Regions from separate parts of the Homo sapiens genome. Here regions 2, 3 and 4 are each linked to region 1. Evidence: promoter capture Hi-C in 16 types of primary human blood cells and fetal thymus (Javierre and others, 2016). All regions are on one chromosome and are shown on one strand. Each heading gives the region's core, a stretch centred on a gene start or on the middle of the fragment in contact. The rest is flanking DNA. Distances are from core to core; before and after follow the strand shown. Region 1 holds the start of SCO1 (synthesis of cytochrome C oxidase 1). Region 2 overlaps MAP2K4 (mitogen-activated protein kinase kinase 4). Region 3 has its middle 11 kb from the start of MAP2K4. Region 4 overlaps ZNF18 (zinc finger protein 18).

Region 1 (6,171 bases), core at 1,778-4,277:
CAATTTTCTAATTTTGATGGTTGTATTGTGGTTATGCTAGAAAAGGTCCTTGTTTGTAGGAAATACACCAAAAAGTGTTTGGAGCTAATGACGCAACATGTCAGCAAATAAATACTCTCAAATTATTTAGGAAGACTTTTCAGATTATTTAATAATACATTTTTTAAATAAAACAAACGTTAGAATTGCACTTGAAATTCCAAACTAAAGTCAAAAAAAGCTTCCATATTCTAGAATTTTCCCGCCACAACTTTCCTAGCTTTTGTTTCTTTGTGAAACTAAAGAAACTTACTGCTTATTAGACTATGAAAATCTTACCCAATACTACTTATTATGCCAAAGAGTCTCATATATATGTATGTCAGTACAAAACTTAACACTGCTAAGTTCCTAAAGCCTATGAATTCCCAGATTTAATCATTAACCTTTGTATATAATGTTATCAAAAGAGACTCCAAAGAATGGAAAGATTTAAGCAATACTTTAAAGATTTACCTAAAACCTCTAAACCAAATCTTAAAAGTCCTAGGATATTCACTAAAATGCAAAGTTCTTATAAATAATTTCTAAATATTTCAAGATGCTAATCCAGAGCAGTTCCTGGCATTTCCTGACCAGGCTCTTTTCACCTCCCCCTCATCCACAGAGGGCATGCAGTATCTACTCGCACTATGCTCCTTGCCTGATCTCTAGGAAGCCTTCTCAAATCTCAAGGCTGGGACTTGCTTTTGCTCTCACAACATGGTAAGCTTCCTTCTGGCCTGGCAGAATCGCATCTAGTAAAATACTTTACTTCTGTGTCTGTTTCCCTTCCGTGTGCACCTCAAAGGCTCGACTACATCTTACTCATCTTCGTACCCTCCAGATTTCATCTTGCCCAGTCAAATCTATCCACAGTATATCTTTTAACATTGTTATGCAGTGGTATCCTAGCTTGGATCCTGGAACAAATAAAAGACATTGATAGAAAAACAAGTGAAATCCAAATACAATCTGTAATTTAATAGTTGTGTGCCATTTAAAATTTCTTAGTCATGAAAAATGTGTCATGGTTATACAAGATGTTAATATTAGGGGAAGCTGGGTGAAAGGTATGTAGAACCTATGCTATCTTTGCAATTTTTTGGTAAATCTAAAGTTGTTTCAAAACAAAAAGCTAAAAAACAACAAAAAAGGTGCTAGTCCATAGCCAGGAAGACCTTTATACAGGGCTGAGCAGATGATAATCTACTTACTCTCTGCCTTTTCTTTCTTGACGTGCTTCATTCCAGCCAGTAAAGCTCCTCCAATAGCAAATGTGATTGCTAAAGACTTCCAGGAAACAGGCTACTGGGGCAGGGATTTCAAACATAAAAATTCTAGTAAGATGCAAACATTTAACCATACAAACTTATTAAAGTAGTTTTTAATATACATACACACAGGCCATGATGTTAAATGTGCAAAATGTTTCAGGGATGAGAAAATGCTCAAAGTTTCTGTGGATGCAGTTAGGTCTGGGATCTGAACTACAAAGGCATTCATCTCCAGGGGAAAGTTCCCTAAGTCAGTTCTCTTCATGTAAATAAAAAAAAAAAAAAAAAAAAAAAAAAGCTCAAGTACCACGATTGTTACTATGTGTGACCCTAGCTCCAGTAATGACTTTAAAACCAATTATGGCCGGGCGCGGTGGGTCACGCCTGTAATCCCAGCACTTTGGGAGGCGGAGGCGGGTGGATCACCTGAGGTCGGGAGTTTGAGACCAGCATGGCCAACATGGTGAAACCCCATCTCCACTGAAAATACAAAAATTAGCCGGGCGTGGTAGCGGACCCCTCTAAACCCAGCTACACGGGAGGCTGAGGCAGGAGAATCGCTTGAACCCGGGAGGCGGACGTTGCAGTGGGCCGAGATAGGGCCACTGCACTCCAGCCTGGGCAAAAGAGCAAAACTCCGTCTCAAAACAAAAACCAAAATCCAAAAACACACACACAAAAAACAATTATCTGCTTATGCTGATACTGAGATAAATAGACCAAACGAAATTTGGGAGGTTAACTTAACTCTGGCTTCCAGAAGTAACAATGCCAAAGTAGAAGAGGAATCTAAAAGTGGAGCTTCTTGCAAATTACACCCATTATTTCTTTGTACCCTTATTCAACTCCCCAAATGAAGATGATGTTGGCCAACTAGACTAGGCCTAACTCATTAACCTTCCCGTAGCTCCAAAAACCCACTTCTCTTACCACAGGGTAGTGGCTCTCAAGTTATTTCTGGGTCAGAATTAGAACTCGAGAGAACCCCAAGAAAAAGGCAGATCCACACATAACTAAGTTCCACTTTTTGTTTCAATTTCAACGTATACATGGAACTCTGGATGGGGCTCAAGTGACAAATTATAAAAGTCCTCTGACTTCTCAATCACGGTAAACTTTAGGTTCATACCCTTAAGAAAACCTGAAACTTAATTTTTTTTTTTTTTTTGATGGAAACGCTAACATAAAATCCAAGTCGGGGCATCCAGCCACGTGGAGAGGGTGTAAAGTCTCAAGTTCTCTGTGGAGAACTGGGACTACCCGCAAGGCACGGGAAATGTAGGATGAAATTCCATGACCCAGGTAAGGCGCGCAAGCTAAGGACAACTTTAGGGGAGGCGGAGTAGTGTCTGAGGTTACGACCAAGTGGGATGTGGCCGCTGGGCTGGCCGACAGCCGCGACGAGCACCAGAAGGGTTCCAGGTGTGCACTCACCCCGGGCTTCGAGGGGCGCGTGGAGTCTCCGGGGCCCTTCTGCGACCACGGGGGTGGCGGCCTCGCAGTGCTGAGGGGCCGGGTTCCCAGGCAATAGCCAGGGCGCCCCGAGGCACGCCACGCCTCCGCTTGCCGCGCGCAGAACTGCCTCAGCAAGACTCTCGCAGTCCCCTCGGCTGGGCCCCAAAACTCGAGTCCGCGAGGCAAGAAGCGCCAAAGTTGGCCACCCAGAGGCCGCATAACTCGTCCGGGTACTAGGACCAGCATCGCCATGAGCCTCGGAGACCGGGTCTCCTTTGACCCTCCCCGCGATTTCCGGTAGCGTTCCGCTTCCTCCGGAAGTCGGAAGGAGTCGCTCTGTCCGTCCCGCTCGTTGGTGGCGCTGTTACATAGCCCGTAGTCAGAGGCCTTTCAGCCCAGGGGCCGGCGCACGGTAGGTAGTTCCCTGCGGCTGGAGGCGGGTCTGGCGCGGGCTGGGCGGTGCTGCGGGGCCGCGGGACAGCGGAGCGCCGGGAAGGGGGCTGCCTTAGGGGTCCAGGTGCGCGGCTGGGCCGAGGCAAGGCGGCCCCAAGCGCTGGGGGCCCCCGCTTTGGTCGTGGGCTTCGGTGACCACAGCTAGCTCCTCGCGCCGGGGACACCCCCACCTCGGAAGAGAGAACACACTGCCTAGAGACCCACGGGACTGGGCAGCCCCCATAACCCTACCTTGTCTGGCCGACTTTGTCAACCTCGTCCTGCCGGCCAAGAGGAAGTGCCAGAATGTTGACTCCTTTACATCTTTGAAATAGAAACCGACCCATTGCGATTGAAATAGTCTTTAACTTAAAAAAAATTGCTAATTAGGATAATTTGAGTGGTTAGGGCGGTCTGGAAGAACTTTAAATGCCCAGCGCTTCTAGTTATTTAACATTATAATGTAACCTAATTAATAAAGCATAGCAGTGTGTAAAGAAATATAGACAGCATGATATCCCATCCGTTAACTTAGTCTTCCTGGGTCCCAGTTTCTTAAAATACTCTCACGGACTCCCTTGCTCCCTACAGTTTCGTTATTTGAAGTTTGTTATGGGTTCCTCATCTGGAACTGCTTATGTTCCTTGTTAATGAGGCCAAGAGCATTCGTAGGTTTTTCGTTCTTTGTGAAAGTCTAACTTCATTTCATCTGCCTTTATTTATATCTTAATATCCGCAATATTAACCACTCCCTCCCCGCCCCTACCTCGGTGGTTGCTTTACAAAATACAGAGAAATAAAAAAAGGAAAATCGTCCTCTAATTATCTTCCTTAACTACAGATCCCGCTCCTGTGTGGCTTTTTTTTCCCCCATGGGACCGACTCTGAGTAGGAGAAACTCGTGCTCTGATGATTGTTGGACCAGAGCATGGTTGGTTTGCTTGTTTTCTATGAGTTAGCCAAACTAGCCAACTGTTCTGTTCTCTAACCCAGTAACGGAACATAGTGTTACCTGTGTTTCTTGATTCGCGGTTGGACTAGAATTTTCAGAAATTTCTGCCAAAGTTCTTAAATGTTTGTTCAGCACTTCAAGTCGTTAATCAAACTATTTTTTTCTATCTTATAGTTGCCTGTGGGTAGGATTTTTGCTCTTTTATCTTTGTGTATTTGTTTGCCCAGGGATAATTTTTTCTTGTAATTGACAAAAAGACATAAAAGTACCTTGTGTAGTCAGGCAGATAGCATACAAAATTATTGTTCATCTCTGATTGCCCAATTGTAGGTTACCTGATCAGCCACCCAAATTAAGATTGAAGTCAGTGTTTCTACCTGATCTATTAAATTTTATTTGCTAAAGTGCTTCTTTTAGTAGCAACTTCTTCATATTAATTTTATAATATTAAATAAAATGCTATCATTGAAAACAGTTCTTGGGGCCAGATGTGGTGGCTCACGCCTGTAATCCCATCACTTTGGGAGGCTGAGGTGAGTGGGTCACTGGAGCCTAGGAGTTTGAAGCTGCAGTGAGCTGTGATCGGGCCACTGCCTTCCAGTCTGGGCAACAAAGCAAGACTCTGCCTCTAAAAAATAAATAAAATAAATATAAAATATAGTTCCTGGCTCAAAGTAGGTGTTTTATAACTGCATTTTGGATGAATTGCTAGTAACACCTGAGCCTGATGGCAAGGACCCATGAAACTTTAGTGCCAGAAGGCGCCTACAGTGTTATCCCTTATAGACCTTATCACTTTTATTACTGCTGTGAAACCACCAAAGTCACCAAATGAGGTTTATGTTTTGTTTTCCAAGTTAGATATTTTTCTTTTCTTTCTTTTTTTTTTTTTTTTTTTTTTGAGACAAAGTCTCCCTCTGTCGCCCAAGCTGGAGTGTGCAGTGGTGCGATCTCAGCTCACTGCAACCTCCGCCTCCTGGGTTCAAGCGATTCTCTTGCCTCATCCTCCCGTGTAGCTGGGACTAGAGGTGCGTGCCACCAGGCCTGTCTAATTTAAAAAATATATATATTTTTAGTAGAGACAGTGTTTCACCATGTTAGCTAGGACGGTCTCGATTTCCTGACATCGTGATCTGCCCGCCTCGGCCTCCCAAAGTGCTAGGATTACAGGCTTGCGCCACCACACCCGGCCCCAATTTAGATATTTTTCTTGAGAGAAGCAGGGCATGGATTAGTATCATCTGATATTGGTTCTATCAATAGTGATCAGATTTTGTTCTTGACATAACTTTAGGCTGGTTTGACTGGGGACAGCTAGGCCCTAACTTTTGTGAACTTCCCAGCACCCTAATGTGTTTACTTCATTTTTGTTCCAGGCCCCTGCCCCTTGTGCCTAACTCCTAACCACAAACATTTCCTGCCCCAACTTAACTTTCCTTTTGGTATGGTATCTGCGTAGAAAACATATGCTGCACCCTTAGGCTAGGAGCCTCTGTTACAATAGTTTCTCCTAACAAAGTCTCTCTTTATTAATCTCTAGACTTTCCCTGCTGCCCCCTTCACCTTTGACAATAGAGTGAAGAAATCATACTCTTTTCAGGGTAGAGCTACTTCTTTTACAAGTTCATTATTGATGCTTGAAGGCTTTCCACAAGGAACTTCAGCCTTCTGCCAATCTTAAGTATTGGAAAAGTTTTATTAGTATGATCTTATAGCAACTTTTCAGTAATTAAGCATCCTTGGGTATGGGAGGCCTGAGGCAGGTGGATCACTTGAGCTCAGGAGCTTGAGACCAGCCTGGGCAACATGGCAAAACCCTATTAGTATGATCTTGTAGTAACTTTTCAGTAATTAAGCATCCTTGGGTATGGGAGGCCTGAGGCAGGTGGATCACTTGAGCTCAGGAGCTTGAGACCAGCCTGGGCAACATGGCAAAACCCTATCTCTACAAAAGAAAAAAAAAAAAAAGCCAAAAAAAGTCAGGTGTGGTGGTACATGCCTGTAGTCTTAGCTACCAGGGAGGCTGAATTAGGAGGA
Region 2 (6,171 bases), core at 1,289-3,788, 1.4 Mb after region 1:
TGATTTGCAGAGTTCAAAGATAAATCAAGATAGTTAAAAATTTAAAGCAGAAAATTGTTTACAATTTTTTGATGGAAACAGACTTGAGGATGAGAGGATGGTAAGGTGAGCCCAGTGTAAAGTGTTTCTTCCTGAGGGACATACTGATGTTTTTGGAAACTAAATAATGCTGGCTCTTAATAGAGGAACTGACACCTTTTGCTGTTCTATAAAATGTGAAGGAGAGATGCTTTTGGTAACCTAGATTGCAGAGATTCCATAGATTTTGTATTGAGTAGTGGACTCTCAACTGCCCGTGTTGAGGTTTTTGGCCAAGATCGAAGCAAACTATATGCTCAGCTTAGCTGGTTGTGGAAAGCAATGTTAAAAAGGTTTGTATTGCTTGAGAAGTTAGTGGAGGGAGAATATTCAGGGCTCTTTATCATCTTGTTTTTAAAGCTAAATAAACCTGGAAGGTGTCTTCCCTCCAACTTCAATATTCTGTGAGTCAGTGAGTTGCTCACAACTAGACAAAGGGTATTCCTAGGCCTCAGTGAATGTGGATACACTTGACCAATCCCTTTCTTCAGGATTACAGTTCTTAATATTCTTGATGATTCCATGTTTGGGAGTGCTTTTCTCATGAGAAATTTGAGGAAGACACTGTGTGCCGATGCTGTGAAAAGCTTGTTTGAAAGGTGCTGGCTGTTCTCTTAAGGCAGAGTTTTGAAACCAGAATTTCAAGGATGATTCTGACAGATTGTTGCCCTCAGCCTTGGAGTGGCTGAGTGGGGACAGGACTGCTCAATGCCTAGGCCAGCCTCTGGGCCAGCTGCAATTCTAATTTTCCCAGCATGTTGAACAAATATTCTCATCTTTTAAACAAGCCATTGCATGAAAAAAGTAGGCAGTATTGCTTTGAGGGGTGGAACAGTGCTTTGGAAGTGTGATGAGGACAGGTACTGTTCCTAAGTCAGGGTTCTTGGTTGCAAACAACAAAGATTTACTCCAGCCAATAACCATATAGGCTTAAGTTGTCTGAGGCTGTCCATGTCAACTTTATTCCCAAATCAATAAACATTTGGAAGTGTTTTCTGTATCAGGCACAGAGCTAAGGTTTTAGGTATACAGAGAATCTCTCGCAGGAAACCGCTTCTGTATAAATATTTTAGGATGTTTGATGCCTCGTTTCTCTCCTGCTATAGTTAAAGGGACAATGTTTATCTGTGTTGACTGGTTAGAAATTGATGATATGACAGTCCCACCAAAGGGGTTATTATAATCACAAATTCATAATGTTTTTGATCAGTTATTTTAAACCCTGTTGTACAAATATTTCAATCTTTGTTAGCATCTAAAAATCTTCACAGGTCATTTATAGTATCACGTCCCTCCTTTCTCCCTGTGAAAGTTGTTTCAAGTTTTTGAAAAAAATTCATATTAATGTCCTATTTGCTTGTAATTTTTTGTCATTAAAAATATCTGAATACATGGTGACAGATTGCCTTTCGGTTTTGATTTTTTTGAGGGACCCTTGAAAAAGAAGTAAAGGAGAGAAGGACCCAGCCCCAGTAGAGGCTCTAGTACTTAGAGAAAGTGAATGGGAGAGGAGAAGATGCCTTTTTTTAAAAAAAAAAAAGCTCATGCCTCCAGGTAGCCAGAAACAGCTTCTCCTGAGTATTGTAAAAGCTATTTTTCTACTTTTCTTGAATCTCACCTTCGGTTGACATTTTGGGGCCTTCCTTTTCCTCCTCAAAACTGCCTTTCAAGTTCATCTTAAACTGATCAGCATTTGAAGAGTTGGGGTACACAGATGAGACCCAGCAAGGTAACTTGATCATGTGCTAAGCTCGTTGGCACTTGTTTTAGGCTTTGAGTGATCTTTGCTTGGAAAGGCTTCGAAACCTACAGAATTACTTAGTGTGTTTTGTTAGTAAATGATCAGAATATAAATTTGGACTTTTTCAAGATAATTGCAGATGTCTCTGAAGTGTAGACTGTGTTTAAATCTAATTTATGTAACTTAAATCACATTCTCTTCATCATGGTGTACGTTTATGAAGTTAATGGCCTTTAAAGCTTTCAATTTAGTTTTTATTTAAATGTGAATGCAATGCTGAAAAAAATCTCTCTGTGTATTCAGTATAAATACTTATATTCAAGAAAACAGTTTAAGTTTTAACTGTTGTAATATATTTTATTGTTTATCTGGTAAGGTTAGCTACTATTCCGTCAAATTGGGCTTTCTAAGAAAGGACCAATTTTTGTTTTTCTTTGGATAGTTTTCACAATAGTTCTTTGTTCTGTCCTTGTCTTGCATTTTATCTTAGTCTTATATTAATTTTTCTTCACACGGAGGTAATGGATGATGTGCCAGATGGTTTCAAACACAGACTACATGACATATGCTCAGTTTTTGATTTGAGGAGTTTGTAAAGATTTTCTTCAAATTGTGATAGCAAAGTTCCTTAACTTAATTTTTTCTGTAAACGATTTGCCATATTAAGGTAATTAATAGGTTCAAGTTCCAGAGATTAGGAGCTTAGTATCTTTGGGGACCACCATTCAGCCCATTACAGTCTGTTTTCTGGGCCCCAAATATTCATATCCTTCCCATGTGCAAAATACATTTACCCTACCCCAGCGTCTCCAAAATTTTGACTCATTACAGTATTAACTCAAATGTAAATCTCACCTAAATATTACCAGCTCAAAAATCCCAAATCCCATTATGAAAATCATTTAAATCAGGCATGGGTAAAACTCTGAGTATTATCCAGGGCAAATTCCATTTGGTTTCAAGACCCGGGAGTAATCCTCTATCTTTAAATATTTTCTAAAGAAAAATTCTCAAGAAGTAAAAGAGCATATTTACTAAAAAAACCTTTTTTTTTGTATATTGCTGAACCTCTCACAGAAAGTTTTTCTACCAGCAATATATCTTATTAGTGATTCTTCTACCTAGCCATTCTGATCATCATGTTATCATTATGTATATATAATATAAAACCTTCAAACTTTGCCATTTTCATATGAACAAAAGCTTAAAATGTTTTTGGTGTTAGTGTCTTTTTATATTTTCCCTTGATTTGTCTTTACTGCTCATATTCTTATCACTTTTTTTCTATTTTTCTTGATTTCTATGATGTCTTTATATATTTAGAGCTACTGATTTTTGTATTGCAAGAGTTTTCCCAAGGTTCAATTTTTTTTTAGTTTTGTTTTTTGGTAATATACTGAGGGTTTTTGTTTTTTTTTTAAATACAGTCATATCTGCTATGTTTCCTAGTGTACCCTTTGCACATGTTGTTTGAATGTCCTTCCTCTACATTATGTGGAAAAGTCATACTGTACTAACCTTATTTCTGAAAATGGATGTGTTTGGTCTTCGTGGGAATTCACATGATCTGGTAGAAAGGAGGCTTATCTTTGAAAGCAGATCTAGGGGCCGTGGCAAGGAGCTCTGTGCTCTTGTCTCTTTGCCATCTTCTCCATCCAGTGTGGCTCCGTCAGATTTTCAGATCTCACATTTACAGTTTGAACCCTCTATTAAATCCTCATCCACTGAGGTCAGAAAGTGTTTGGATTGCAGAGATATTTTTTGAGTAGTTAATTGTATAATAAACTCTAGAGAGTGAGTTCAGGAAAAAGTGTCTCTAAGGTGAATGTGAAACCAAGATATGCTGCAAATGCTTAAAAAATTCAGTTCTGTTACAAGGTATCCTTTTAAGTCCTAAAGAAATGATTCTGTAAGACTTATTGATATAGAAAGAAATGTTAGTGAATAAAGCATTTTACAAAGCATTTTCATGGTCTGATTTCAATTGTAGTGAAAAAATACATGTCCCTATCTATGTATAGAAAAAAGTCTGCAGTAGTTAGTAAACTGATTATTTTGAGATACTTGGATTGATAAGTTTATGTAAAATTTTAACCCTATGTATTGTATAGGTGTATATGTAACATTTTTAATATATTTGATCTTTTTTTGCATTTTCTGCCCTTCTACCATGGTGGTTTTACTTGGGTAATAAAAAACATTGGTATCTCTTCCCTTCCTACCCTAAAGAAACAGCTTCATGGAAATAATTATTTAGAATACTTGTATTACTAACTTGAAGTTTACTCTACCGTAATGTTTTTAGCAAATTTTTCAGATTCTTCACTCTGTTGTTTATATTCATTAAAATGAGGGAAAACGATATTTATTAAACTGAGGGCATTAAGTATAACACTGAACAGATGGTAATATTTTTAGAATTTTTCAGTATATCTACTGAGATAATTGATTTTTATAATAGTATTTTCACTTGCAAAAGTATTAACTTCCCTGAATAATGGAAACTTGAAGTGATAGCATTCTATCTATTGTATCATAGCCTAGTGAATGATTTGTAGTTAGTAACAACTTTAGATTATTTTATTTTTTCTTAGTTTAAGAAATTCCTCATTGCCTTTCAAAATATTGTCCTATATTAACTGTTTGTTAAAGCAAGTTCTCTTGCCTTTTGGTGTGACTTTCTTATGCCCTCAGAATAGTACCTGTTTTGTAGTACTTGAAACTTTTACTTTTTATTTGTTATTTCTCAGGTAAACGCAAAGCACTGAAGTTGAATTTTGCAAATCCACCTTTCAAATCTACAGCAAGGTTTACTCTGAATCCCAATCCTACAGGAGTTCAAAACCCACACATGTGAGTATTCTTGGTAATCAAAGGCTCAACTCAAGCAAAGATTTTAAAGTTACTGTATTTTATGAATTTTTCCAATTATGAGATGTCAGTATAATTTCTCTGACTAAACTCTCTGGGAATATTGTTTATTCTTTTCCTTCTGGAGTTCCAGTTAAATTGCAAGTTGCATTTAGGAAATTTGACTGTCTTCTGTCCAACTGTACAAATTTTCACCACTTAGTGACAAAATAGAGTCCCATCTTAATAAGCTAGATTCCTGCAAGATTTCTATGTCATAGTAAATTGAAAGAGTTGTGTACATGTGAGTGTACACATATCAGTGGTTATTTCATTTACTGAATTTTTAAACAATAGAAATGATATTGTAGCATCTTAGTGAAAATATTAGAGCATCTTAGTTAACATAAAGCAATACCTTCAGAACAATATTTTACATTAACCTTCAATTGAATTTAAGTGATGTGAAATATTAAAAAACCTCTTCTTATTTCCCATCCTAACCTATCATGAAAATGAAGGCCAGTGGCTGTACTTTTATAACCATGTCCATAAAAATAATTTTGAGCTAGTTTCGATGTTGAGAACTATAAAGCAAGTGGTGTAAGGTATGATTAAAAAGCTGGCAGATACATTTTTTTTTAAGTAATTTCTCAACAATTTGCATCTAGATCTTATTAGGCTTAAAATACATTTATTCTTCCCAAAGAGGCACTTTTATTGCTATTTTCTCTTCTTTCAGAATTTGGTATGCATTGTATTTACAAACAGTAACAAATTGGTAGAAGGTAGTGTCTTGCAAAAGAGATGCTTAAAATATTTTTAAAACAGCAATGTCTAGAAGGGAGTAGTTTCACTTGTAGCCTTAGAGGGAATGAAAGATATTTTAAATAAAAAGTGTAGTAACAATTTATTTTTCTCAATTGTCTATTAATTTTATTAGACTGGTGTTCATAATCACACTTCTTGTCAGAGCTCAGCCTAGAGTCCCACTCTTTTTACCTTCTCTGAAACATCAAGTAGGGGCTATCTTGAGGAAGGAAACTTAGTACTTATTAATTAGTCAGAATTTCAGCAGCAAGGAAACAATTCTTAAAAGAACCTCCTTCCTTATTTCTTAGAATTTGTAGTGAAAGCTAGTGCAAAACTAATTCTTTAACATAGCCCCCTTCTGTTACCTTAGTTACTAGCTGAACCATATGTTGGAAGTCTAAGAAGGAAAGGATATAGCAGTAATCACCAAACTTATCAGATCTTTCTTTTTTAAAAGCCTTTTTGGACAAGGAGAAAGACAACCTGACTTAAATTAAAACTGGAAAAACATTCATCTATTTGTACTGTCTTCCCTCTGGAGTTTCTTTATGTATGTGGAATTCATGGAGCAAAATTTTTTAAAAAATAGTAAACACAGGGTGGAAAAAAACTTTCTTCCAAAGTTGAGTTCAGGTTTTATTTTTTGTTTTGTTCTTAACTAATGTTTTATAATAAACCTATAGCCAGCT
Region 3 (6,171 bases), core at 1,323-3,822, 1.3 Mb after region 1:
TGTTTTAGGATAGGTGATTCCTAGAAAGAATAGTAATAAAAAATTATTTGTACTGAGCATAAATTATTACCAGGGCATGGTGGTGCACACCTGTGGACCCTGCTACTTGGGAGGCTGAGGTGGGAGGGTCACTTAAGCCTTGGAGGTTGAGGTTACAGTGAGCCATGATCTCACCACCACACTCCAACCTAGGTGCCGAAGCTCAAAAAAAAGAACTGAGCAAAAATATTACCATACTGTTTTTTTTGCCACAGTATTTCAACAGTATCCAGATATCCCAGAAGAAAGAAAAAAGCTGTAATGATCAGAAACATGATAAAAGTCTCAACTAAATGAATTTAATTATGTAAATTGTAAGACATTCTGTAATACTGTAATAAATATCATATTTTTACCTAAAAATTAAAACCCAAAGGAATTCTGTGACTGTGGCCTCATAGAGATAGCTAACTACCATTAATGTAGTTTTGTGTGTTAGGCCAATGTTTACTGTTTTATTTTATTTTGTTTTGTTTTGTTTCTGTCTTTTTAGAGTCCTGCATGTGCCTCTGAGCTTAATCTCTGTTCTGGTAAGATGTCAAGATTCTGGCCTCCTCTACCAAGAAGGAGGTCAGGGCTTCAGTCACAGAGCTTCACCACCAAATGCTGAGACATCATCTCCCAGTGAAGACTCTATGTTGATCTCCCTTTTGAGCTTCAGTTCCTGCCAGAAAAAGAGCTGCAGCCTTCAGATGCAGATTTGGGAAGCTTCTGAAGTCTTTAGGCTTCTTTATCTCATTAGCCAGGGATCCTTTAAAACTTAGGGAGTTCTACACAGGTGACAATCTTAGAGCGATTGTGGAAGAGGCCCCATGTCCCTTTAAACCTTCCACCACCCAGAATTCTTCTTCGGTCCTCCTAAATGTCTCACTTTGACCCCTTGTTAGCTGAATTCTGATTTTTGTACGGTCACTTGATGCTGCCCGTGGCCTCCTTCACATTCAGGTGCCTGACTCCTTGCTGGACTGATGGCCCTGCTGACTTTGGGCAGTCAGACTTTGCCCTTGCTGGGTCTGTGACATCTATCTCACCTTGAAAGCCAGGACTCCTGAAAATCCCATCAGCACTGAGCAGTGGGAAGCCCCATCTGTCCCTGCTACCTGCTGCTGGGGATGGCTAGACGCCTGCCCACGTTGAGATTTTCTCTGCATTTGGTTTTTCAGACTGAACCTTTCTCCTTCTAACAGAAGCTTCCAGGAGCATGTGGTGGCTCCTGAAGGTCTCACAGATCAATTTTAAAAAGCAAGCTTTTTCTTCCCCTGGAGAAACAGCAAGATTGGTGACACGTCTGTCACTGCTAATTAGCACAAAGGGTCTGAACACTGGGGAACACAGAGAGAGAAGATGATTGGAATTAACCAGACACCAGGGTTGAAAAAAAATCCATAATGTGGTGGTGCTCAGAGAACGGAAAGAAAATAAAGTTAATCAGCAGCAGTGGTCTGCTGTAGAGTCTTGAGGAGGGCCACTGCAGAGTGCCTCGGGTTGCCCGTGGAGATACGAAGAAGCAGCAGCATGTAGCCAAGGCACCAAACAGAAACCCCATCTTGGAAGAGGCTGGTTACCCGGAATTAAGCAAGGAATGCATTCATTTAAGCTTACAGGGTTCTATCCAAGATCAGTTCTCTTCTCTGAGATTGATGTGGACCCTTCCAACCAGAAGTTGGAAACTGGCAGCATGTATTTTCTTTGGCAAGCACAGTTTTAAAAATTTACTTGAACTGGAATGCCTTTTAGTGGTGCATGCAATTTGCAGTGAGTCATAAGTCTGACCATCCCATTATTACTACTATTATTATTATTATTCAGAGATGGGGGTCTAGCTACGTTGCCCAGGCTAGGCTTGAATTCTTGGGCTCAAGGGATCCTCACGCCTCAGCCTGTCAAGTAGCTAGGACTACAGGCTCAAGCCACCATGCCCAGCTTTGACCATCCCTTTAGATCATGTTCCTTTAACATACTTACAGTACCATCTGGACCCTGAAGGTATTTGAGCAAGTTTGCGCTCAAATATTCTCCAGAAGGCAGAGGAGTCAAGGTTAATGATGCTCCCCTCAGAGTCTGAGCTGTAGAGCCTGCTGGGGATGTCTGAAGACTTTGCTGGTCAGAGGGCCTAGAAGCTGACTACTGAAGATTGGGCAGGGCACTGCCCTTGCCAAATCCCTTATCCCACAGTTCACTTGATACTTACTTAATCAGTCTGTGGCCTCCACCAGATGGTAGGCCACTAGGAACTGTTGTTCCCCACAAGATCCTTATTATTCAGGGAACTCCCAAAAGAGAAATAGGAAGGAATTTGGTCAAGGTCAACAGATAAGAATTTAGTCTAGGTCTACTGTAACTATATCCCAAAAACCAAAATTTAGATACCATGGTCCAAAATTCGGAGCATAGCATTTACAATTGTGACACCCTGGCAAATTCCTGACTTACGGGCACAGGCTATACAGATATCAGCCAGTGTTCACTGGAGGAAATGAAGGGAAGAAAGGAACTCAAATCTCAAGCCCTGTCTAGGAGAAGGAGGCAAGTCTTCAGGGTTATACTCACTTATAAACTGGAATCTGGCCTTTTTCCCAGTGAAGAATCCACTGAATTATCTTAGCTTTCCTTCACATACCTGAAAACAGATATATTCGAGGAGACATGGGTTGGTGTAGACAATTTTTTTTTTTTGCCATCCTTTTATCCCTACATGGCTGCTTCTAGAACTGCCTGCTCCACTCAGGGTTCCAGGAGGACAGCCTTGGGTTCAAGGCAGAGACGTTCTTTTATTCCAAATTGTATCATTTGGACCTCTAGAAAACAGGGTCCTATGGTCCTCCATGATCAATTTCCACCCATCTCTGTGCCATACATTCCCGAGCTTTTTTTTTTTTTTTCTTTTTCTTTTTTCGAGACAGAGTCTTGCTCTGTCACCCAGGCTGGAGCGCAGTGGCATGATCTTGGCTCATTGCAACCTCCGCCTCCCAGATTCAAGCAATTCTCCTGCCTCAGCCTCTCAAGTAGCTGGGATTACAGGCGCCCGTCACCATGCTCGGCTAATTTTTGTATTCTTGGTAGAGACAAGGTTTCACCACGTTGGCCAGGCTGGTGTCGAACCCCTGACCTTAAGTGATCCACCCGCCTCAGCCTCCCAAAGTGCTGGAATTACAGGCGTGAGCCACCGCGCCTGGCCATTCCTGAGCTTTTAAATCATCCCTCCTTGCTCCTGCCTGCGTGAGACGTAAAAGAAACAACAAATACCCTAACTTTGCTTCTTGAAAAACCACTTAAAATACACCAAATGATCTATTAACATATATTCCTAGAATTCCAACATACAGATTTGTGAGATGGTAGAAAAAAGTGCCTAAAATATGGCTTATCTATGTAATATTAGCAGATGGTAGTTTAGAAAAGACTACAGGAACATCACCTTTTCCTTGACTGCACATGTGGCTTGGATATAACAGACCAAAACAGGGGTGAAAGCTTTATTGTGGTGCCTGTCGAGAATAGATTAGAATAGACAGTAATGGAGAGGACAGTTTCACAAGACTTTATTCTCAGGCTTAATTAGAACCAATAAAAACTTATAAGTAAAAAAAAAAAGTACTATCAATGAATTTCACTGTATAAATATAGTATGAAATGTTTACTAAATGAACAGGATTTTTCATTTATATATCTTGTAATTCTTCGCTATTCTAGTTGAATCTGAGCCAAGAATAGAAACTCAGTACATTTATTTTCTGGTGACTTAAAGAGAAAAAAGGAAAAGTTTTGTGTAAGTAAAATAGAATGTATTTACAAGAACAGACTGCTTTTCTTTAAAACTGCTTCCAAAACATTTGTTTCTGAACTTTTTTTTTTTTTTCCAGATGGAGTCTTGCTCTCTCGCCAGTCTGGAGTGCAGTGGCGCAATCTTGGCTCACTGCAACCTCTGTCTCCCGGGTTCAAGAGATTCTCCTGCCTCAGCCTCCCAAGTAGCTGGGACTACAGGCGCCCGTCACCACGCCCAGCTAATTTTTTTGTATTTTTAGTAGAAACGGGGTTTCAGCATGTTGGCCAGGATGGTCTCGATCTCTTGACCTCGTGATCCACCCACCTCACCCTCCCAAAGTGCTGGGATTACAGGCGTGAGCCACTGCGCCCCGCCGGTCTTTTATTTTTTAAACACTTACTATGCCATGAATTCATAGGGAATATGTTCCAGCACCTCAGGCTTCTTCCTACTGGTTCTCACGAAGTGTGCTTTTCTGGGCAGTGCAGGCTGGCACTTCAGTTGAACCCCAGGTACTTTTCTCTTTGTCTTCTTTAGTTTTCTGATAATTTTCCTTCACTTGTTTCAGGAAGCTATCTTGGCTCTTCACGTGCTTAACATGCCCAATACACACATTAATTCTCTTGGCAAGAATCTTGCCCTTAACTTGTTTGTTTACAACAAATGCCAACAGCATGCTGGGGAACATTGTAGACTCTTCCAGTTTAGCCATGGTGACACCTGTGGGGCATTCCTTTTTGAACAGTACTCATTCCCTTGATGTCTATAATATCACCTTTCTTCTAGATTCGCCTGTGCACGGCCAAAGGAACAACTCCATGTTTTCTAAAACTCCTGGAGAACATATATCGGGTGCCTCTCCTCTTTCACTTTGTGTTCATCATTTTGGTGAATTACTGGAAGATGGCGGTTCCCCTGAATCATATTTTGAATGAAACTTTAAAAGAATATAAATGTATGGTAATAAATATTTGCTGTTTCATAAGAATGTTTATTTAACAACAAAAGAAAGGACATCCATCATCCTGATTTAGTTCCATCATTTTTATTATTATTTTTTTTTGAGACAGAATCTCATTCTGTCGCCTAGGCTGGAGTGCAGTGGTGCGATCTCAGCTCACTGCAACCTCTGACTTCCGGGTTCAAGCGATTCTCTTGCCTCAGCCTCCCAAGTAGTTGGGGCTACAGGCACCCGCCACCACACCCAGGTAATTTTTGTGTTTTTAGTAGAGATGGGGTTTCACCATGTTGACCAAGATGGTCTCGATCTCCTGACCTCATGATCTGCCCACCTCAGCCTCCCAACATGCTAGGATTACAGGTGTGAGCCACCATGCCCAGCCAAATGTTCTTAATTTTTTTTTTTTTTTTTTTTTTTGAGACGGAGTCTAGTTCTGTCGCCCAGGCTGGAGTGCAGTGGCACGATCTTGGCTCACTTCCACCTCTGCCTCCCAAGTTCAAGTGATTCTCCTGCCTCAGCCTCCTGAGTAGCTGGGATTACAGGCATGCACCACCACATCCAGCTAATTTTTGTATTTTTAGTAGAGATGGGATTTCACCACATTGGCCAGGGTGGTCTTGAACTCCTGACCTCGTGATCTGCCCACCTCAGCCTCCCAAAGTGCTGGGATTACAAGTGTGAGCCACTGCGCCCAGCAGTTACATCTTAATTCATTAATTTTCATTAGCTATTATGTTCATGACATTTACAGTCCATAAGCTACCAAAGAATATATAATGTAAAGTGTCCCTCTCAATCCTGTCCACCAATCACCCAGTTTCTCTCTTGAGACACCAAAATTTTCATTATTTTCAGTATCTTTCCAAATAAATTTAAAACAAGTAACTAAATATTACATATACATTTCTCCTTCTTTAAAACAAATAGTAGCAAACCATGGTGTTCTTCATCTGGCTTTTTAAAAGATAACAATATATATTGATAGTCATCCCATATCACTACACAAAGAGCTTCCTCTTCTTACAGCTGGGTAGTATTCGCTCCATGTTTATTCAGTTGCCTGTTAAAGGACATTTAAGTTGATTCTAATATTTTGCTACAAAAATACTATATTCAGTAACCTTGGACATATATCATTTTGCAAACGTGAGAATATCTGTAAGAATACACGTCTAGAGGTATAATTTCTGGGTTAAAGGGTATATACATTTTTAATTTTGATAGCCATTATTAACTTGTCCCCCATTGAGCTGTGCCAATGTACATTCCCACCAGCTATGTAGAAGAATGCCAGTTGCCCACACTTTCATCAATATATTGTGTTATTAAACTTCATCTGCTAGATAACTGAGAAATTATATCTCAATGTGGTTTTAATTTACATCTTTTTTTTTAGACAAATCTT
Region 4 (6,171 bases), core at 1,397-3,896, 1.3 Mb after region 1:
TCTAGAGGTGAAAAATTCATCTAAAATGAAAAATATACTGGAAGAGATTAACAGCAGATTAGATGCTGTGAGATGAAAAGACTAATGAACTTAAAGACATCAAAATAGAAACTGTCCTAAATGAAACACCAAGACTTCAAAAACAGAATGAAAAATATACTGGATGAGATTAACAGCAGATCAGATACTATAAAAGAAAAGATTAATGAACTTGAAGACAAACAGAAATTGTCCAAAATAAAAGACCAAGACTTCAATAACAGAATGAAAAATATACTGGATGAGATTAACAGCAGATCAGATACTATAAAAGAAAAGATTAATGAACTTTAAGACATACAGAAATTGTCCAAAATAAAACACCAAGACTTCAAAAACAGAAAAACAATCAGTAAGCTGTGGGACAACTTGAAGAGCTCTGATACATGTATATACATTATCATTATACACATTCCACAGGTATTATTTCCCAAGTCCTTAAAGGAGAGGAGAAATAAGCGAGACAGAAAAAAAAATGCTTTAGAAATAATGGCCAAAAATTTTCCAAGTTTAGTGAAAACCATACACCCACAGAGCTAGGAAACTCAATAAATCCCAATTACATGAAATGTGAAAATGACTCCAAGGCACATCAAAATCAAATTGTTTTAAAAAATGAGAATACACTGAAATAAGCAAATATATATATATGTATATATATACACATTATATGCATAAGAACAAAGATAAGAGTACATTTGGCATGATTCTATTTTTACAAAACTCTAGAAAAAGTAAACTAACATATGGTGACAGACAGCAGATCAGAGGTTTCCTCAGGATGGAGAATGGGGTGAAGAGAAGCAGGAGGATGAGATTATAAAAGGTAAAAAGTTTCCTTTTCATCGCTTTTGTACGTCAGCTCACCTGAGGTGCTGCTGGGAGCAGTGAGGCTCCGAGGTCCTGGTCTCTGATCAGCCTTTCCTCCAGTCGGGCAGGCTGGGAGGCAGCCAGGGCTGAAGTGAGGAGAGGAAGTTTTCAGAATCTGGATGTCTTCCTTAACCACTCCCCAGAGGGCGCAGATAACAATCTTCACAAATCAGAACAATACCTGAACAATACCTGTACTGCCATCTATATTTCAAGACTTGTGTTTATCTCCCTGACACACTCCAACCCCCTCCAACATTCCAGTCTCACCCATATGTTCTCCCACCTCCTTCCTCAGAGCCAAAATCCAAATGGTCTGGCCCAGTCATAAAGCAGTTTAAAACACAGACTTTGACTCTCCAAACAAGAGCGGTTTATTTAGGTCTAACCTGTTTGCAAACCTCTCAGGGATACGCCAATCTGAGCAGCATACCATTTCAACTCACTTAGGCCTACTAATCACAATCCCAAAATCTCTCCAAGAGAACACCACACAGCACCATCCTCACCTAGTTCTGCTTCTGTGTCAGATTCCTCTTTCACGATGTGGCTCAGAAGCTCCCCAGGCCCTGAGGATGAATTCTCAAGTCCCAACTCCTGAGGCACCACTTCAAGATGGGGCTCCACTTCCCCCACTTGGCAGCTTGGAGATTCCATCTTCTCTGATAAGATGTCCTGTCCTAGAACCTGGATACTGATCTAGAGACCATATATTAATTAGTAATTACTGAAGAATCCAGAGTAAGGATCTCTAAAAGACACAAAGCTTACTCTCTACAACAGATCATAAGACAATTTCTAAGGATGTGGAGAAAGAGAAAACCAGCTTTTATTTCTAGTCCAGCAGGAACCAGGGAAAGAAACGTCCCAAAAGACACCAAAAGCTGAGGCCCGAATCAGGCGTGGGAGACCTTCAAGACATGCCACTAACGTGCTTCTACTGGATATGCGCCACCAATGAAAACTCAGGCATCTTTTAAATAACTTCTCAAACATTCTAGTCTAAAGGTGGAATGCGCTGGGAGACTTTACCCTCAATCCTCAATAGCTAAAGAGTGTTGAGAGTCAGAGAGTGTTAGAATTACGTGAGGTATGGGGGAACCCAGCTGTGGTATAATAAGAAATACACATTTAGTCTTTGTCCCCAGTTCCCATTCCCGCAGAGCTCCTAAAACCCTGGTAATTTCTTGAGGGACAGGTGAAAGAAGAGTCTTTGTTATTCATAAGGAGCCCTTCTCAACCACACCTGAGTTTATGCTAGGCTCCTAGATAGCTTCAGGATGGGGGCTGGTTGCCAGAGGAACCAACCTTGAGATTAAAAGGTTGGAACTTTCAGTATCTCCACCCAGCTTCTGAGGAGGGGAGGGCAGCTGGAGATACTCAATCACCAACGGCAAATGACTGTATCAAGTGTGCCAAAGCAGTGAAGCCTCCATAAAAATCCCTAAACCATGAGGTTCAGGAAGCTTCCAGGTTGGTGACCTCATGGAGGTACTGGTAACGTAGCACGCCAGGAGAAGCATGGAAGCTCCACGCTCTTTCCCCCACACCTTGCTCTATGCAGCTCTTCTCTCTGGCTGTTAATGAGTTGTATCCTTTAGAGTAAGTCAGTAACAGGAAGTAAAATCCTTCCCTGAGTTCTGTAAGTCATTCTAACTAATTATCAAACTTGAAGAGAAGACTGTGGGAACCTCCGAATTTATAGCCAATTTGTCAGAAGTACAGGTGGCCCCTGGGACTTGTGACTGGCATCTGAGAACAGGAGCAGTCTTGGATTGAGCCCTGAACCTCCAGAGTTAGCTTCAGAACTGAATTGCTGGACACTGTACTGGTGTTAGAGAATCACAGAATTGGCCATTGGTGTGAAAAGCCCCACCCATTTTGTGTCATAAGTGGTATCAGAAAAAAGACAACACACCTGATGGGACCAGAGAGGAGCCCTGTGTTTCACTCGCAGATCATAATACCCTCTGCTTACCCATTGCCACAGTCTCTGGGGGTCCCCCTTCAAGCTTTCCACAAGGGTCACTGCCTCTTCTCCACTTCCTGGACACTGTTTCCGCACCCACATCTGGATCTCCCCAGGCAGGATGGTCAGAAACTGCTCCAACATGAGGATCTCTAGGATCTGCTCTTTGGTGTGAACCTCTGGCTGTAGCCACTGGAAACAGAGCTTCCGAAGTTGCTTCAAGGTCTCATGAGGCCCAGACATCACCTGGTAACGGAACTGCCTGAAAAGCTGGCGTGCGGTCTCAGGGCTGGAGAGTTCCTCTTGAAGGGCAGCATCTGATTCTGAGAACTGGGAGTCCTCGGCCTTCGCCAGCGATGGCAGCAGGCCTAGGGCCTGCCCCAAGTCAACGGGCATTGTCCAGCCTGGCAAGTCCTTTTAAGTAAAGTGCTTCTGCAGTGGAATTGTCTCCGGCAAGAACTAGGTCTTCACCAGGACACTAAAAAGGGAATGAGATTGAGTGCTACACAGAGGAAGGGGACACATTTTCAGAAAGAACAAATTCACATGCCCTACCCGAGAAGCCATGGGGTCAACTATGGAGCTTTTGAAATTGCTCAATGGATACACGATTCTATTTTGAAAGATTATAAACTTGAAGCCACAAAGCAAACTACTGATACTGTATCTAAACAGCCACCATTTCCCTGCCCATTTTATAATGTTCTTTCTTGGTCTTCAAATGTCCAGACAAAATGAAGAATAAAATGCACCATACGAAACTTTTTCACTATAGGTTTCCAGGTAAACGGCTCTTCTACAAAACACTTCTACATCTTCATCTATATATCTGCATACTAAAAAATAAAGCTGGAAAAAGATATTAATGCCCTAGGAATAAAAGCTAATGCCTACATGCTTCTGTAATAAATAGGAGGTTAAAGAGAACAAGTTAAGTCTTCCAAAAGGTACCAAAAGTACTTCCAAAAGTATACCAAAAAGGTGTAATGAAACTTCCAAGAGAGGTCTTTTGAGTGCCATATTAAAATAGGTCTATTTGAGAATTTATGAAAAAAACAAGTATCATACCTGACACTTTCAACCTTGGGGTTAAAGAGGGTGAGAAGGCTGGGCATGGTGGCTCACGCCTGTAATCCCAGCACTTTGGGAGGCCGAGGCAGGTGGATCACGTGGTCAGGAGATCGAAACCATCCTGGTTAACACGGTGAAACCCCGTCTCTACTAAAAAAAAATACAAAAAATTAGCCGGGCATGGTGGCGGGCACCTGTAGTCCCAGCTACTCAGGAGGCTGAGGCAGAAGAATGGGGTGAACCCAGGAGGTGGAGCTTGCAGTGAGCCAAGATCGCGCCACTGCACTCCAGCCTGGGGGACAGAGAGAGACTCCGTCTCACAAAAAAAAAAAAAAAAAAAAAAAAGAGGGTTGAGAAGACTAACTACCTTGAAAATACTCCTATGGTGTTGATATAAATAATCACTATTTTATGTGAATGGTATCAAATTTTAGAAGATCACAACTAAGACAGTAGAAAGAGAAATATTAAATCGCAAATAATATTATTCTAAAAAGGATCATCCACTACTTCTAGTTAACTTTCTTGCAAGTAATCACAATATAGGATTACTGGGTAAATCCTTAAATGTTATGAAGAATTTGGTGGTCATCATTTCTCCCTAAGACTAATCACAGCAATTTTTAAAAAAAGATACCCCATCACTTGAGGATCTGGCTTAATCAGAGATCAGTACAATACTCTAGCTTTTTGTAGCTGCTTATTTCTTAAGGTGTAGGAAACAATGTCTTCATCCTTACCGTTTCACCAAAATAATTTATCCGACATTGGAAAATCATTTAAAAACTAAAAAAGAAAAACAATTTTTTTTCAAGGGCCTGAGAAAGGAAAAAGCGAAGTCAAAAGAATTACAGTTGACCATTGAATAATGCAGGAGATAGGGGCGCCAACCCCCCACACAGTAGAAAATCCATATATAACTTCTGATTCCCCAAAAGCTTAGCAGTCTATTGACTGATGCCTTAAATAGTTGATTAACATACATTTTGCATGTTACTGTATTTTTGTGATAAAGTAAGTTAGACAAAATATTATTAAGAAAATTATAAGGAAGAGGCCAGGCCAGGTGGCTCACGCCTGTAATCCCAGCACTTTGGGAGGCTGAGGTGGCTGGATCACAAGGTCAGGAGATCGAGACCATCCTGGCTAACACGGTGAAACCCCTTCTCTACTAAAAATACAAAAAATTAGCCAGGCGTGGTGGCGGGCGCCTGTGATCCCAGCTACTCGGGAGGCTGAGGCAGGAGAATGGCATGAACCTGGGAGGCAGAGCTTGCAGTGAGCTGAGATCGTGCCACTGCACTCCAACCTGGGCGACAGAGCGAGACTCCGTCTCAAAAAAAAAAGAAAAAGAAAATTATAAGGAAGAGAAACTACATTTACTATTCACTAAGTGGAAGTGAATCACCATAAAGGTGGTCACCTTCATCATCTTCACACTGAGTAGCCTGAAGAGGACAAGGAACAGGAGAAGGAGAAGGAAGGGTTGGTCTTGCAGTCGCAGGAGTCACAGAGGCAGATGAAAATCCTTGTATAAATGGACCCTTGCAACCGTAATCCAATACCAAATGTTTTTTATGTGGTCCTCATTAAATTTATTTTTTGCTTAAAAAGAAACCCAGGTCTGAGCGCAGTGGCTCACGCCTGTAATCCTAGCATTCTGGGCGTCCAAGGCAGGGGGATCATTTGAGGTCAGGAGTTCAAGACCAGCCTGTCCAACATGGCAAAACCCCATCTCTACTAAAAATACAAAAATTAACCGGGCGTGGTGGTGAATGCCTGTAATCCCAGCTACCAGGGAGGCTGAGTGAGGCAGGAGAATTGCTTGAACCCAAGGGGGCAGAGGTTGCAGTGAGCCGAGATCACACCACTGCAAGAAAAAAAAAAAGAAACCCAGGCCAGGCGCGGTGGGTCACGCCTGCAATCCCAGCACTTTGGAAGCCCTAGGCGGGAGGACCACCTGTGGTCAAGAGTTTGAGACCAGCCTGGCCAACGCAGTAAAACCCCATCTCTACTAAAAATACAAAAATTAGCTGGGCATGGTGGTGCGCACCTGTAATCCCAGCAACTCAGGAGGCTGAGGTAGGAGAACAGCCTGAACCTGGGAGGCGGAAGTTGCAGTGAGTCAAGATCGTACCACTGCACTCCAGCCTGGGCGACAGAGGGAGACTCCATCTCAAAAAAAAAAAAAAAAAGAGTCAGTGAAGTCAAAAAATCTGAAC

The links. The method cuts DNA at HindIII sites, captures the fragments that hold promoters and counts their contacts. A CHiCAGO score of 5 or more calls a contact.
Region 2: a contact is called between a fragment that was not itself captured here and the fragment with the promoter of SCO1 in region 1, in 1 of 17 cell types (megakaryocytes). The highest score is 6.1, in megakaryocytes.
Region 3: a fragment that was not itself captured here is called in contact with the fragment with the promoter of SCO1 in region 1 in 1 of 17 cell types (activated CD4 T cells); the score reaches 5.3 in activated CD4 T cells.
Region 4: a contact is called between a fragment that was not itself captured here and the fragment with the promoter of SCO1 in region 1, in 1 of 17 cell types (naive CD8 T cells). The highest score is 6.1, in naive CD8 T cells.

What each region holds. Positions count from the first base shown.
Region 1 is chr17:10,694,506-10,700,676 of GRCh38, forward strand. SCO1 (synthesis of cytochrome C oxidase 1) reads right to left here and starts at 3,028. Exons shown (of 6, transcript NM_004589.4): 1 at 2,730-3,028; 2 at 1,236-1,326. The coding sequence starts at 3,002. It overlaps ADPRM (ADP-ribose/CDP-alcohol diphosphatase, manganese dependent), which reads left to right and starts at 3,089. Exons shown (of 4, transcript NM_020233.5): 1 at 3,089-3,162. RefSeq lists enhancers at 2,005-2,828, 2,829-3,653, 2,947-3,241, 2,957-3,006 and a silencer at 3,127-3,456. The HindIII fragment of the contact is 16,251 bases long and covers 748-6,171 here.
Region 2 is chr17:12,050,320-12,056,490 of GRCh38, forward strand. MAP2K4 (mitogen-activated protein kinase kinase 4) reads left to right here. Exons shown (of 11, transcript NM_003010.4): 2 at 4,570-4,672. Among named protein-coding and RNA genes, the nearest start is that of MIR744, 28 kb to the right of the region's middle. The HindIII fragment of the contact is 964 bases long and covers 2,057-3,020 here.
Region 3 is chr17:12,006,536-12,012,706 of GRCh38, forward strand. It overlaps a transcript of ZNF18 not described here and the pseudogene RPL21P122. Among named protein-coding and RNA genes, the nearest start is that of MAP2K4, 11 kb to the right of the region's middle. The HindIII fragment of the contact is 1,877 bases long and covers 1,635-3,511 here.
Region 4 is chr17:11,989,556-11,995,726 of GRCh38, forward strand. It overlaps ZNF18 (zinc finger protein 18), which reads right to left. Exons shown (of 7, transcript NM_001303281.2): 2 at 2,888-3,356; 3 at 1,419-1,608; 4 at 907-995. The coding sequence starts at 3,274. Among named protein-coding and RNA genes, the nearest start is that of ZNF18, 4.8 kb to the right of the region's middle. RefSeq lists an enhancer at 1,736-2,390. The HindIII fragment of the contact is 546 bases long and covers 2,374-2,919 here.